4 separate regions of the Homo sapiens genome follow, and all the other regions are linked to region 4. Evidence: promoter capture Hi-C in 16 types of primary human blood cells and fetal thymus (Javierre and others, 2016). All regions are on one chromosome and are shown on one strand. The core of a region is centred on a gene start or on the middle of the fragment in contact, and the rest is flanking DNA. Distances in the headings are between cores, read along the strand shown.

Evidence for each region. The method cuts DNA at HindIII sites, captures the fragments that hold promoters and counts their contacts. A CHiCAGO score of 5 or more calls a contact.
Region 1: the fragment with the promoter of IQUB here is called in contact with the fragment with the promoter of STMP1 in region 4 in 4 of 17 cell types (fetal thymus, non-activated CD4 T cells, naive CD8 T cells and 1 more); the score reaches 13.8 in fetal thymus.
Region 2: a fragment that was not itself captured here is called in contact with the fragment with the promoter of STMP1 in region 4 in 1 of 17 cell types (M0 macrophages); the score reaches 5.1 in M0 macrophages.
Region 3: the fragment with the promoter of NDUFA5 here is called in contact with the fragment with the promoter of STMP1 in region 4 in 2 of 17 cell types (total CD4 T cells and total B cells); the score reaches 8.2 in total CD4 T cells.

The regions. Positions count from the first base shown.
Region 1 is chr7:123,533,304-123,536,714 of GRCh38, forward strand. It overlaps IQUB (IQ motif and ubiquitin domain containing), which reads right to left and starts at 1,292. Exons shown (of 13, transcript NM_178827.5): 1 at 1,189-1,292. LOC124901740 (a long non-coding RNA gene) reads left to right here and starts at 1,228. Exons shown (of 2, transcript XR_007060507.1): 1 at 1,228-2,122; 2 at 2,302-2,956. RefSeq lists silencers at 1,359-1,588, 1,609-1,758, 1,839-1,968 and an enhancer at 2,039-2,178. The HindIII fragment of the contact is 3,094 bases long and covers 655-3,411 here.
Region 2 is chr7:120,993,936-120,997,357 of GRCh38, forward strand. The region is part of intron 2 of CPED1 (cadherin like and PC-esterase domain containing 1); the gene reads left to right. Among named protein-coding and RNA genes, the nearest start is that of CPED1, 6.9 kb to the left of the region's middle. The HindIII fragment of the contact is 1,808 bases long and covers 1,147-2,954 here.
Region 3 is chr7:123,556,361-123,559,486 of GRCh38, forward strand. It overlaps NDUFA5 (NADH:ubiquinone oxidoreductase subunit A5), which reads right to left and starts at 1,458. Exons shown (of 5, transcript NM_005000.5): 1 at 1,415-1,458; 2 at 1,044-1,088. The coding sequence starts at 1,435. RefSeq lists enhancers at 588-1,166, 731-1,930, 1,167-1,745, 1,486-1,535, 1,796-1,935. The HindIII fragment of the contact is 10,047 bases long and covers 1-2,456 here.
Region 4 is chr7:135,661,261-135,664,250 of GRCh38, forward strand. STMP1 (short transmembrane mitochondrial protein 1) reads left to right here and starts at 1,254. Exons shown (of 3, transcript NM_001130929.2): 1 at 1,254-1,334. The coding sequence starts at 1,320. RefSeq lists a silencer at 1,129-1,348 and enhancers at 1,988-2,512, 2,513-2,990. The HindIII fragment of the contact is 1,162 bases long and covers 479-1,640 here.

The DNA.
Region 1 (3,411 bases), core at 42-2,541, about 12 Mb before region 4:
AAGGGCATACAGATCTTAATTTTGTTAAATTCCATCAAACTGTTTTCTATTATAGCCCCAAGAAGTTCCCCTTGACTGTTTCCTTACATCCTCATATTGTTTTATGAGTCCTAATAATTAAATATCCCTTTGTTGTGTGTTGCCCTTATATTTCCCATTGTATGTTTGATGTTGTTTTTCTCTTACTATATAAAAGTTTTAGATTGTTAGGTAGTGACATTTATCAATCTTTTTGCTTATGAGAGTTTCCAAATTTCCTGACATGCTTCGAAACACCTTCTCACAATGAAACATAAATACATAAATTCATCCATAAATGCATAAATGAGACAGATCTGTAAATATTGATAGAAAACAACTGGACACACAGTCTTAAGTGTAAAAGCCAATCACAGAAGAGTATGCACAATGTTACAGGTGTAACTACATATTTGCGTATGTCTAAAACACCTGTGGAAGGTGGCCTGGAGATGGGGAGAAATGGGTAGATGGAGGATTTTCACTCTTCATTCTTTTTACTATTCGAACTATTTTTTTATGTATTATCTATTCAAATGAAAATGTTTAAATCTTATTGTTTAAAAAGCAACCTCTATCATGTTTGCATACAAAAAAGTCTCCCTTTTCACCTACATTTCATTCCCTACCATTTAAAGCTTAACACATTTAGAATGTAGTATAATTAGTGAGGCAGGGATCCAGTATTGCCTTCTACCAAATAGATCTGTTGAATTTTTAGGTTTGTTAAGAGGCAAAGACCAAGGGTGGAGAGGAAGGAGTGAGAGTGCCAGGTGAGGAAAGTCTAAAATCTCTCGACTTAATATGAGAATGGTGGCCACGGAAGGCTAAGAGTCTCTAGTGCCAGGTGTGGGTTATACACACATCTTCTATGCAATTACCGTGACAAGCACCCAGGGTGTGAGGTGAGGTGTACCTCCTAGCTTGATGCTGCTGGTTCAAGTCCCAAATCAGAGAGGGGAAGCCAAAAAAGGAGCCGAGAAAGATGAGATGCTTCGCACGGTTTTTAAAGTAAAGTCGGAACATTCCTGACCGACTAGGCAGCCCCAGGCGCTCAGGTGGGAATCACTGCCCAGCACACAGAACCCAGAGTCCAGCGCGGCTGTCACCGGCTCTAGGCTGGATCTAAGCGTCGGACCAGGAGGCCGCAGTCAAAATCTGTTCTCCTACCTGTGTACGAAACCAAACTATTCTCGTCGAAGTGCTTTCCCAGGCTCCTAAGACGCAGCTTCCATACTCGCCGCGTTCTCAGCTGTTGGTCGTATCCTAGCAACGGCCCTGGCACCACCTCTTCCTGCCGGAGCACGGCAGGGGTGGGAAGGAGAGGAGCCAGAGGCGGGTGGGGGGGAGGAGCCAGAAGAGGGCAGCGGGGAGGGGCCGGGAAGGAGGAGCGCGGCAGGGTAGGGGGAGGAGCCAAAGACTGGGGGCGGGGCCGGGAAGGAGGAGGGCGGCAGAAGAGAAGGGGATGAGCCAGAGGCGGGGAGGTGGGGCCGGGAAGGAGGAGTGCGGCAGGAGAGAAGAGGAGTAGCCAGAGGCGGAGGGGCGGTGTCGGGAAGGAGGAGCGCGGCAGGAAATAAGGGAAGGAGCTAGAGGCGGGCTGGGGGCCGGGGTCTGGAAGGAGGATCGCGGTAGGGAAGAAGAGGAGCCAGAGGAGGGGGATGGGGGCTGCAAAGGAGGAACGCGATAGGGAAAAGGGGGAGGAGCCAGAGGCGAGGGGGCGGGGAGAAGAAACATGGCAGGAGAAAGGGGAGGAGCCAGAGGCGAAGAGACAGGAAGAGGGACGCGTCAGGGAGAAGGGGAGGAGTCAGAGGCGAGCGGGCGTGGAGGAGGGAAGCGGCAGGGAGAAGGGGCGGGGCCAGAGGCGAAGGGGCGGGGAGGAGGGACGCGGCAGGGAGAAGGGGAGGAGCCAGAGGCGGAGGCTGTTACCAACTGGCTACCTAGATCCAAGTGAATCAGGACACTAACTTCTCTCCAAGATCTTTTACACTTGTGAAACGGCACAGCTCTCTAAACCAAACACTGACAGCAGTTTAATTTTACAGATATAAAAAAAATCCGAGTCAGAGAAATCATCACGATGAAGTCAGAGGCGAGAAACTGTCAGGTGCCTACTTGCTTTTGTTAAACTAACAACTTGGCTCTCAGCTTCCTGGCAGCCAAAGAGAAAAGGGAGATAGTAGCTATCAAATAATTCTGCTTAGAAGAACTTTTGTTAATCACTAAATTAGTTAATAAACTAAATTTTGTCTAACAACAAATTCTTTTTTTTTTTTTTTTTTCTAGTGTATACAGAGTCTTGCTCTGTCGCCCAGGTTGAAGTGCAGTGGTTCGATCTCGGCTCAATGCAACCTCTACCTCCCTGGCTCCCGCGATTCTCCTGCCTCAGCCTCCTGAGTAGCTGAGATTACAGGCGCCCGCCACCACCCCCGGCTAATTTTGGTATTTTTAGTAGAGATGGGGTTTCACCATGTTGGCCAGGCTGATCTGGAACTCCTAGCCTCAAGCAATCCGCCTTCAAAAGTGTTGGGGATTACAGGAGTGAGCCACCGCGCCCGGCCTATCAATGAATAAGAAAACTTTTAAAGAACCACAGGATAGTATTGGAGGTCAAGTCAAGTATGTTCCTCTTGGAAATTTAGTAACAAACTACATGTTGCTATCTCATAATAGCAGCTAACATTTATGAAGTATTCATTGTCATGAGGCACCGTACATAGATTTCTAATTTAATCCTTACAACGATTTTATTAGGGAGAAACTGCTATTAGACCCATTTTGTAAATGAGAAAACTAAGGCACACAAAGTTTAATGAGGGAACCAGGATTAAACCTAAGCAATCTAACTCCAGGTCCCAGATTTTTTAACCATTACAGTACTGTTTAATTTGATTTGATATGTTAAAAGGATTAATAAAATTAATACAGGTCCATTCCCTTATTCATAAATGTTCATTGTCTTCATTTATTTCTTTATACTGTTCTGCTGAAATTGCACTCTCATCTCCCCAATAACTTTGTAATATCCAATGCCATTTTTTTCAGTCATCCCATTTTAAAATATATTTTTACTAGAATAGTGAAATATATATTCAGATAAAATTGGCTTTGTTTTAATAATGATCAGTAAAAGTAAATTCATTTTAATCATTTCCACACATTCATGAAAAGTAAAGGGGAAAAATGGGCATAGAGGTAACCACTAGAATTAGGCTTTCTTGGATGGGTAGACCAGGTGTGGAGGTGTGCAGATAAGATTTTACAAACACTCATACACTCCCATCTCCAAAATCATAATTTATCTTACATTCTGCTACTAATAAACATTCCACTGGTTTTAAACATTCACTTTGCTGGGTCTCCTCTTTAAAATTTGTCATTCACTGTTCTCAATGT
Region 2 (3,422 bases), core at 801-3,300, about 15 Mb before region 4:
GAAGCTCGCCCCTGGGTGGGGGTCGTCCTGCAGGTGCAAAGGTGAAGTGGACTCTCCTTTTCAATCAGTACTGTGAGTAGGAGCTTCCAGGTCTGTGCTTCAGAGACAGTGAAAACGCTGTCCTTAGTTTGATGACCACAACAATGGTGAGTAATGCCCACTAGAAAGGTAGATGAGGCAATGTGGCCTACTCACTACTGAGGCAGTAGTTTGATAACTTTGCTTTCTAGAAATCCACCAAAAATCCAGCAAAAAATGCTTGCACTCTTGGCAAGAGGCCTCTCTTCTTTTATATAAAAATGTTGTAATTATCTCACTGAGAATCCTTCTCTTTAACTAAAAAAAAATCCCCTACAGAACCTTGCTTCCTCTCTACCCTTTCTCCTCCCGATATCTTTCATTTATTCATTTTCATTCATTTAGTAAATATTTATTGGACAATTTGTATGTATTAGCCTCTTTATGAGATACAAGTTATATAGAAATAAAAGCTTCTGTGAGACAGACAAGTAAATTAACACGGTGATAGGAAACTGACAATTACAAGACTACTTTTTGAATGTTGAGAAGGAACTAGAGAGGGTAGAGAAAGAAAAAAGTATTACATGCAGATTAGCCTGCATATGCAAATAAGAAATGAAATAGCTGGATAGCCTGATACATTTGGAGAATTCAAAGTATTTGTTATACTGTGTGTGTGTGTGTGTGTGTGTGTGTGTGTGTGTTGTTGTTGTTGTTACTGATGGAAGCAGGAAGGCAAATACACAAAGTAGAAAAGTCAGCAGGGTCTAGATGTTGGAAATGTGCACATGATAAGGAGTCTGGATTCTATTCCAAAGGCAACAGAGAATCCCTGAAGAATGCTAAGCAAAGACTGGCATAAATACATAAGTGTATTAGAGAGAAAGTGAGAAAACACACATTGCAGAATGGACTGGAGTAGAATTGAAGGCAGGAAGACCAGTTGGTAGGCTGTTTCAAAATGCCTCTTCTTCGCCAAATCTTACTTTCCATGTGTGTTCTTGAACACCCCCTTTTCAACCTTTTTCAAAATTGGCTCCACAGTTACCCTCTATTACTTATAATATTGCCAATTCCAAATCTTTCCTCCTGCCAGCGAACATGTGTAGAACTAATAAAACAATAAGCTTTCTTTGTACCTGGCAATCTACCTAATATGATATGCTCCCTGTCTCTCTACTTCCCTTCAGAGAAACTGTAACTGGTTCTCTTTGCATGTACTTCCTTGTTACCTCTCCCGATTCCTTATCCTTTGCATTTGGTCATTTCTATTGAAACCTCTCTTGGTGAACCCCTTATTACCAAATCTAATGAGATCTATTTTCAGTCTACATCCTTCTTCTCTGAGGCATGTTCTGCTATTGGGAAGTGACTCTTTCTTGAAATTTCCTTTTCGAATTCCACAACACAACAAGGTTATTCTGAAAAACTTGTGGTCTCTTTTCGAGTTCATTTCCTCTCTCTGATGACACAGGTAGACATTTCCAACCTTAGGTCCTTGGATCTTTGCCTTGTTTTATACTTTTCCTTGATGAATGTATCAGTTTTGCCTATTGTTAATTTTCACCCTTGGCAGATGACATATCACCTACCTCTTCAAATTCCTGCTACCTTTTTCTAGAATATTATAAAATACTACAAAAATTTAAATAATTTATTTCACAAACCTCATGCCCAAATCAATGACTCCTCTTAACCTCCCTATTTCCATGAATAGGACCTGTCACCCAACCACCATTTTCCTAGATGCATAGTTTTTACACCTTTGATATTTCTTGCTTCTTCCCTGTACCTTGCTCCTCACCAAATCCATCTGGCCTGGCTCCTTACCAAATCTGAGGTCTGCCACTGAGCGACATGGCGAGCTCCAAATTAGAAAGACCACAACATTCTTCAGTTTTTTTTATTCTTCTTCCTCTTCTTCTTCTTCTTCTTCTTCTTCCTCTTCTTCTTCTTCTCCTTCTCCTCCTCCTTCTCCTCCTCCTTCTTCTCCTCCTCCTCCTCCTCCTCCTCCTTCTTCTTCTTCTTCTTCTTCAATAACTCTGGGAGTGGTGGCTCACATCTGTAATCCTAGCACTTTGGGAGGCTGAAGCAGGAGGATCACTTAAGTCCAGGAGTTCAAGACCAGCCTAGGCAAAATAGGGAGAGCCTATCTCCACAAAAAGTTAAAAAAAAATTAGCTGGGATTGATGGCATGTGCCTGGAGCCCCCCAGCTACTCGAGAGGCCAAGGTGGGAGGATTGCTTGAGCCAGGGATGTCAAGGCTGCAGTGACCTGTGATCATGCCTCTGCACTCCAGCCTAGGTGACAGAGCAAGCTCCTGTCTCAAAAAAAAAAGAAAAGGGAATTATCCTTAGAAATTTTTAATAGAGGTAAAAAAACCCCACATATTATAAAATTTAACCTCTTAACCATTTGTGAGTATACAGTTAAGTAGTATTAATCATATTTACATTGTTGTGCAAAGTCCAAAATATTCTTGCCTTGTTCACAGCCCTTATTCAGAAACATTAGTCTCAACCAGCTTGCATGTTGCTTCCTCTTCTCCTTGGCATCTGGCCCAGATCTGGATTTCCTCCTTGTGGTTTATATATTGCCTGTAGACATGGTGCTCCTTTTTTAGCTCTAACTTCTAATTTCTCTCTGGGACCATGCTGTGCATTTAGCCCTTTATTATACTATTATAATTTTAGTAAATATCACATGAGCACAGCCCTTATGGCTATGTAAAGTGGAATTTTCTCTAGTCCTCCAAATTAATTCAGATAAGAGTTCATCAGATTCCAAAATCTTAGCATCTATCTTCACAATCTCAATGCTGTGTCCTTGTTGTCACTAACCTAGACTCATTCAGTGGTTTAACCAGTTACCCCTCCATCTGCCTGCATATTCTAGGCAGTCTGTGCACAGGTCCCATTAATACCTCTGCTGAAAGCTTTCAGGAGTTGTAACGTTGAGCGCACTCAATTGAGTAGAAACCACACTGATCCTGGCATGTTCCAACATACTTTTCCAGCCTTATCTCTACCCTGTCTCTATGTGTAATCCATAATCCATAATCCACCCAACAGCCTGCCTATTTTCTAAACTCCCACATCTCTCCTTCTGTCAGGAGTCTCCTCCAGGGAGCCTGCTCTACTCAATACCTCTAGAAATCTTCATGATCATTCTTAAAGCTTTTGAGAACCTATGGAGTTTCACTTCCTTCATTATAGCAGCCCTTATCTCCATAAGTGGATGTGTGCTTAAACATCCCTAATAAAACTTATGTTTCATTGTAACTATTTATAAATGAAGGAACATTAGAATGTTAGAACTGCAAATAAGTTAGAGATGATTAAGTTCAACATCTTTCTTTTTTAAGTGAAGAGAAAGAAGGTCACAGAAAGAAAGTGGCTCTC
Region 3 (3,126 bases), core at 208-2,707, about 12 Mb before region 4:
TTGTCAGTGTATAGGTGGTATTTAAAACCGTTCTCTATTTGGATTTGCTCTCTCTTGGTGACAGAGTACAGGTCCAAAAGAAAAGGTCCAAGAACTAAATCCTGACTAACTCAAATTTTAAAAGTGGGCATAAGAGAAATAACCAGAAAAAGAGAAAGCCAAAGAGTAGGGGGAAAAAATCAGGAGACTGGGGGAGTCCTGAAGCCCAGTAAAGAAAGCGCATGATGGAAAAAGTGTCAAATGTGTCAAAAAAAAAAAAACGCTGCTATTAGGTCAATGAAGGTGAGAAACATAAGCTGACCATTGGATTTGGCAACATGGAGATAACTGGTGAACTTGAAAAGAGCGTGATGGAAAAAGTGTCAAATGTGTCAAAAAACGCTGCTATTAGGTCAATGAAGGTGAGAAATATGAGCTGACCATTGGATTTGGCAGCATGGAGATAATTGGTGAACTTGAAAAACGCCAAGGGTGACTGAGTGCATTCAAGGGTGAATAAGAAAGAAATTGGAGAAAATAGAGATAACTCTTTTGAGTTATCTGTAAAGTGAAGCAAAGAAATGGTGTGATTATAGAAGGGACAAGAAGAATAAAAAAATTTTGTGGGTTTTTTTGATGAAAACATTCGTGAATACAGATGGAAAAGACCTAACAGAAGGAAAAGGGGGCAGTACCTTTAGTAAGCCTAAATATATGTAATCCAACGCACCTAAGCAGAAACGGTAAGGCAAGGAGAAAAGATGGAAAACGGAGATATAAATTTGAGATGGCGCTGACAGAAGCAAGCACAAGTGAAGCCATGAAAATGTCAAGGAAAAAGTCAACAAGAAAACTGGCTTAATAAAGAGGTCATGGCAAAAATAAATAAAAATGTGACATCGGATCAACGAAGTAGGTGGACAGCGCCCGTGTCTCAAGAGCTCACGCGGCTTGTAATTAAGGGCTTGAAACATCTGTATCCCGTTAACCCTGCAATAAGCAAAGTGACAGGAATTTAGTCTTCCTTGGGAATTCAAGAACGAAGAAAGAACAAAGGTACATACCTCGTGAGGAGTATTGCACACAGCCAATCCCACAAGGCCAGTGGTCTGTTCAAAAACAAAACACGATTCATGCTGTTTACTACGGTTTCCATACATCCAGCACGCTAAGGAAATACAAAACCACGAATCCCCCGGCTAAAACTGGTCTAAAGCCAGCTACTGGTCTCTCAGTCTCGCTTGTTTGGAGCTTTTTTCCTGACTCTCGGAGCGGAACCACTAACCTGCCCTACCCGGTAAGGCATGCAGAACGAGTCCCCGAAAAGCACCGCCGAGCCCGCGACAGTAGGGGTCAACACCCGCGGGAAGTAGGGCTATCGGACTGAGTCTACCCCCACAGTCTAAATTCCAACAGTGACCTCCATTCGTCTCACCTTCTTCAGCACACCCGCCATGACAGCGCCAACGACTCGGTGACGCACAACCCTTTGGGAACAATTCTCAGACCTGCTCAATCGACCACCGAGGTCGCCACTCTGTCACCCTGGAAACAGCTTAGCTCCACCCCTTCAGGATCGCCAAAGGAGCAAAGACTCTGCCCCGCCCATCTTAAAAGAGAAAAATTGACGCATGCGCGATGGGCATACAAGCCTAAAGCTAAGCTAGAAGACGATTGGGGAAAGAAAGGGTTTCCCAGCTGTCTGTTCCTGTTCCTGCCACTGCTGACGGCTTGCCCAAAGATTGAGGGAAACACTCCCAACTACCAAAAAACTCCAGTCGCTGTAGGAACCTGCACTGTGCTTAACCGTTGATGCATTCCTCAACCTTCCTTTCTCAGTTTAGTAAAATGAAAGTGATAACGGAGCTTGAGCATCCTCTGAATTGATCTCTCAACAGCAAGTTAGTTCTTCGCACAAGGATATCAGTATTCTCTGTGTCTTACGAACCAAAGCCCTATGGAGTGTGAGGTCATTTTCCATCGCTCTTTTCGATTTCACTGGCTGAAATACATCATCTTATTTCCAGATGAAATGATATCAGACCATACCACTTTTTCCTACCTCCACAAACACTGACCACTCACTATGTGTCAGTTACTGGGACATAATTTCTAAAATGGGATTTCACATCCTGGAATTCAAAGAATAATGAAGAAGGCGTGTATTAATAAATAATTTGGTAACTGTTCTAAAAGAAGTTGATGCAAAGTGTGATGGTACCAGGGAAAAGGAAATAACTAAAAAGCGTGGGTGACTTTCTAAAAAGTCAGTAGGAGAAAAGAACAAATTGAGAAAACACAAGTACAAAGGAAAAGAGGTTAAAAATGTATATATAAATTCCAGGTGATTTTATGTGATTGGAAAGGTGGGTTTGATTGTTAAGGTAAACTGGTTAAGATTATGAAAGGTGTTGTTTGCCATTATACAAAATTTGAATTTTACTTTTTAAGGAATGGGAACAATGAGAAGACTTTTAAGCTTCTAAGTGACACCATCAAATTTATGTTTCAGATATACAAACAACTTAGGCAACAGTTGAAGAGAATGAGTTGGAAGAGATGAGGCCTTTCATTAGAGGCATGAGACTAGAAAAAATGAAAGCTAAACCAAAAGCAAACAGAAGAAAGGAAATATTAAAGATTAGAAAAGAAGGAGACAGAATATCAATAAAGAAAATCAATGAAACCAGGAATTGGTTCCCTAAAAGGATCAACAAAATTGGCAAACCTTTAGTGAAACTAAGAAAAAAAAGAGAGAAGATTTAATACAAGCAAGAATAAAAGAACCATCACTAATAGCCTTGCTGAAATAAACAGGAATAAGAAGGAATACTATGAACAACTATGCTTAAAAAAGATAAAGTAGATAAAATGGCCAGATTCCTAGAAAAACACAAACTACCTAAATCAACTCAAGAAGGCATAAAGAAAAATCTGACTAGATCTAACATAATTAAAGAAATTGAATTAGCAAGAAAAAAAAAAAAACCTATCCAGAAGGAAAAGCACAGGTCCAGATGGCTTCGCTGGTAAATTCCACTGAACAATTAAAGAATAACACTTAAGAAACTATTCCAAAATATAGAAGAGGAGGAAACAATTAACAACTAATTCTATAAGGCAAGTATTACTCTGATTCCAACCAGA
Region 4 (2,990 bases), core at 4-2,503:
AAAAAACACACACATACACAGACCGGAAGACTGACAGAACAGACTCTTTGTGGCGATGATACAAATTGTCAACAGGACCTATGGCCATCCCAGGCAAGAAACCCAGCTAGGCCAGTGAAACTGAGAGCCAACCTGATGAGGCCTGCCAAATGCAACTTCTCTCACTTGTTTTTAGTCACCTGCTTTTAGTGGATTAAAAAACCCACATAGCTAAAGTCACAGAGCTAAACAATATATATCTAAGCTCCCACTATCTTCCTTATGGATAACATCTCTGACATCTGGGTTGCTTGATAAAGGTTTCTTGTTTTTCAGGAAGTTGGGGTCAGTTCTTGTACAGTTTAAACCACCAACCTCTCAACTGGGCCTGCATGAAAGCCCGATGGGTGTCCTTCTGACATTAGAGGGCCAAAACCTCCACACTCAGATCATGCTAAGGATGTCATTTTGTGACCATGTATCCTATAAAGAGCCATGAAGCTTGACTACCTCGCGCAGATAACCCATTGCCAAACTTTTCCTTACCTTCAACCGCCTTTCCCCACACCTCAGACCACCCTGCTCCTCTATCCCATAAATATCCCTAAAACCCATCTTTGGGGAGGCAGATTTGAGATCTGTTCTCCCGTCTCCTCGGCTGGCTGCCTGGTGAATAAACCTTTTCTCTGCTACAAAACTCATCATCTCAGTGACTGGCGTGCGGCACACGGCAGCATGGGCCCCATACGGTACCCAGCCTCTACCTTGATTACACAACACCTGATTACACAACGCTGATTACACAGCACACCTGCGGAGCTTTGAGAGCTACAAGCCTCCTTTCCTCCCCGCAAAGTCCAGCTGGGCCCAAGTAGAGGATGCTGCAAAAGCCCCCACGATTCAGCTGCGAACCTAGGGATGGGACCCGCTGCTCATGCCGTCCTTCTAGGTTAGAGAGCCCTAAACTGGGCTGTGTATCAGAATAGTCCGCGTGCTGAGAATAATATAGATTCCTGGGCCTCGGCCCAGGTTTACAGAGGCGGGATGCTCAAGGATGCCCAGCCAGGCTCGGGACTTGCTCTTCGCAAGTCCTGTCGCGCGCTCGCTGCCCCGCCGGTTCAGGCGGTGAGGCCAACGCGCTCCGCCAGGGGGAACCTGGGCGCTGCGACACTGCAAGTCGTTTCCGGGCGCGGGCTGAGTGGGAGGAGCGGGGCGGGGCGTGGCGTGACCCGGAAGTCGACGAGGGGTTCCGCCCCCCCCGCGCATGGGGAGGTAGGCTCGGACCGGCCCGCGGAGCTGCTGCAGTCCTTCGCGCCCTCCTCGCCCTCCCCACCGACATCATGCTCCAGTTCCTGGTGAGTGGAGCTGCCGAAGAGCGGGGCCCGCTGCCTGGGGCGTGCCTCGGACCCCATTTCCCCCTTGAGGATTGCCGACCCCGCCGACCCGGCCTGGGCGTGGGTCCAGCGGTCCCTTCGTCCCCCGCGCCTGGTCGTCGCCTCGCAGGGCGGCCGTTTTCTTCCTGCCTCCCCAGAAAATCCCTTTGCCAATATTTTTCTGCAGCCATCCAAGTCCCTAAAACTTTGAGGTGTCAGAGAGTGTGCGTTTCCAGAGCTTCTTATTGTGTGCCGCGCCCCGCGCTCATTGTGCAATCTTTGTATTAAAGCTTGTGTGGTCCTTGATGACTTTTCGTAGTCCGCCCCCCTTTCTTTCTGCGCTCCTGTTCCATTACATGGTCGCCGGCCGGTCCCTGCTGTGGAGCCCTGCTAGTTGGCTTTTCTGAGGAGGTAGGAAGGCCAGGAATAAACCGTAAATTAGCCACCTCACGAAGTCCGAGAGGCTAAGTCCTCATCAGACCTTTCAGAGTTGGAGGAATGAGTCAGACACTGGTATACAAGTAATTTTTCCCAAAATGTGTAAGCATGAGTAAGCAGACTATTTCTCTTGGCTCCTTATTTGAGTTAAAAACGAGTTTTCTGGCAAAACTCGGTATATTTCAAAAATTGCTTGGTGAAGGTTCCAGGAGTTGCTCATCAAATTTTCAAGTGAAAGTTTTTCTGCCAAGCTATTGTGCATTCAAAACTTGATGCTTTCAACCTCTATTTTTTTTTATTTTTTATTTTTTTTGAGACGGAGTCTCGCTGTGTCGTCAGGCTGGAGTGCAGTGGCGCAATCTGGGCTCACTGGAACCTCCGCCTCCCGGGTTCAACCGATTCTCCCTCCTCGGCCTCCGGAGTAGCTGGGATTACAGGCGCGCACCAGGATGCTCAGCTAATTTTTGTATTTTTAGTAGAGACGGGTTTCACCAAGTTGGCCAGGCTGGTCTCGAACTCCTGACCTCAAGTGATCAACCCACCTCAGCCTACGAAAGTGCTGGGATTACAGGCGTGAGCCACTGCTCCCGGCTCAAATGCTGTATCTTTTTTTGTTGTTTGTTTTAACGGAGTCCCGCTCTGTCGCCAGGCTGGAGTGCAGTAGTGCGATCTCGGCTCACTGCAGCCTCCGCTTCCTGGGTTTAAGCGATTCTCCTGCCTCAGCCTCCCGAGTAGCTGGTGCGCGCCAGCAGGCCCAGTTAATTTTTGTATTTTTAGTAGAGACGGGGTTTCACCCCGTTGGCCGGGATGGTCTCGATCTCCTGACCTCGGGATCTGCCTGCCTCAGCCTCCCAAAGTGCTGGGATTACAGGCGTGAGCCTCCGCGCCCGGCCCCAAATGCTGTATCTTTATCAAAGAGATTAAAACACAAAATGCACCCCTTTTGTCCTTTTGAAAGATGGTAATGGATTGTTAAATCCAATTAGTCAAAAGAGTGTCCTTAATCTGCCCAGCTAAGACAGGGCTGCTCCTTTGCCTCTAGGAGTTTCTGTAGTGTCCTAACTAGATGTTAGTTTAGGAGTTCAGAATAATGACAGTCATTTTCTTGTAGTAAACACTAGATTAAAAGCGGTATCACTTAGCTCCAGAGTATAGAATGATGTAATTGAGCTGCTTACTATATCTGTTGCTCATTGATAA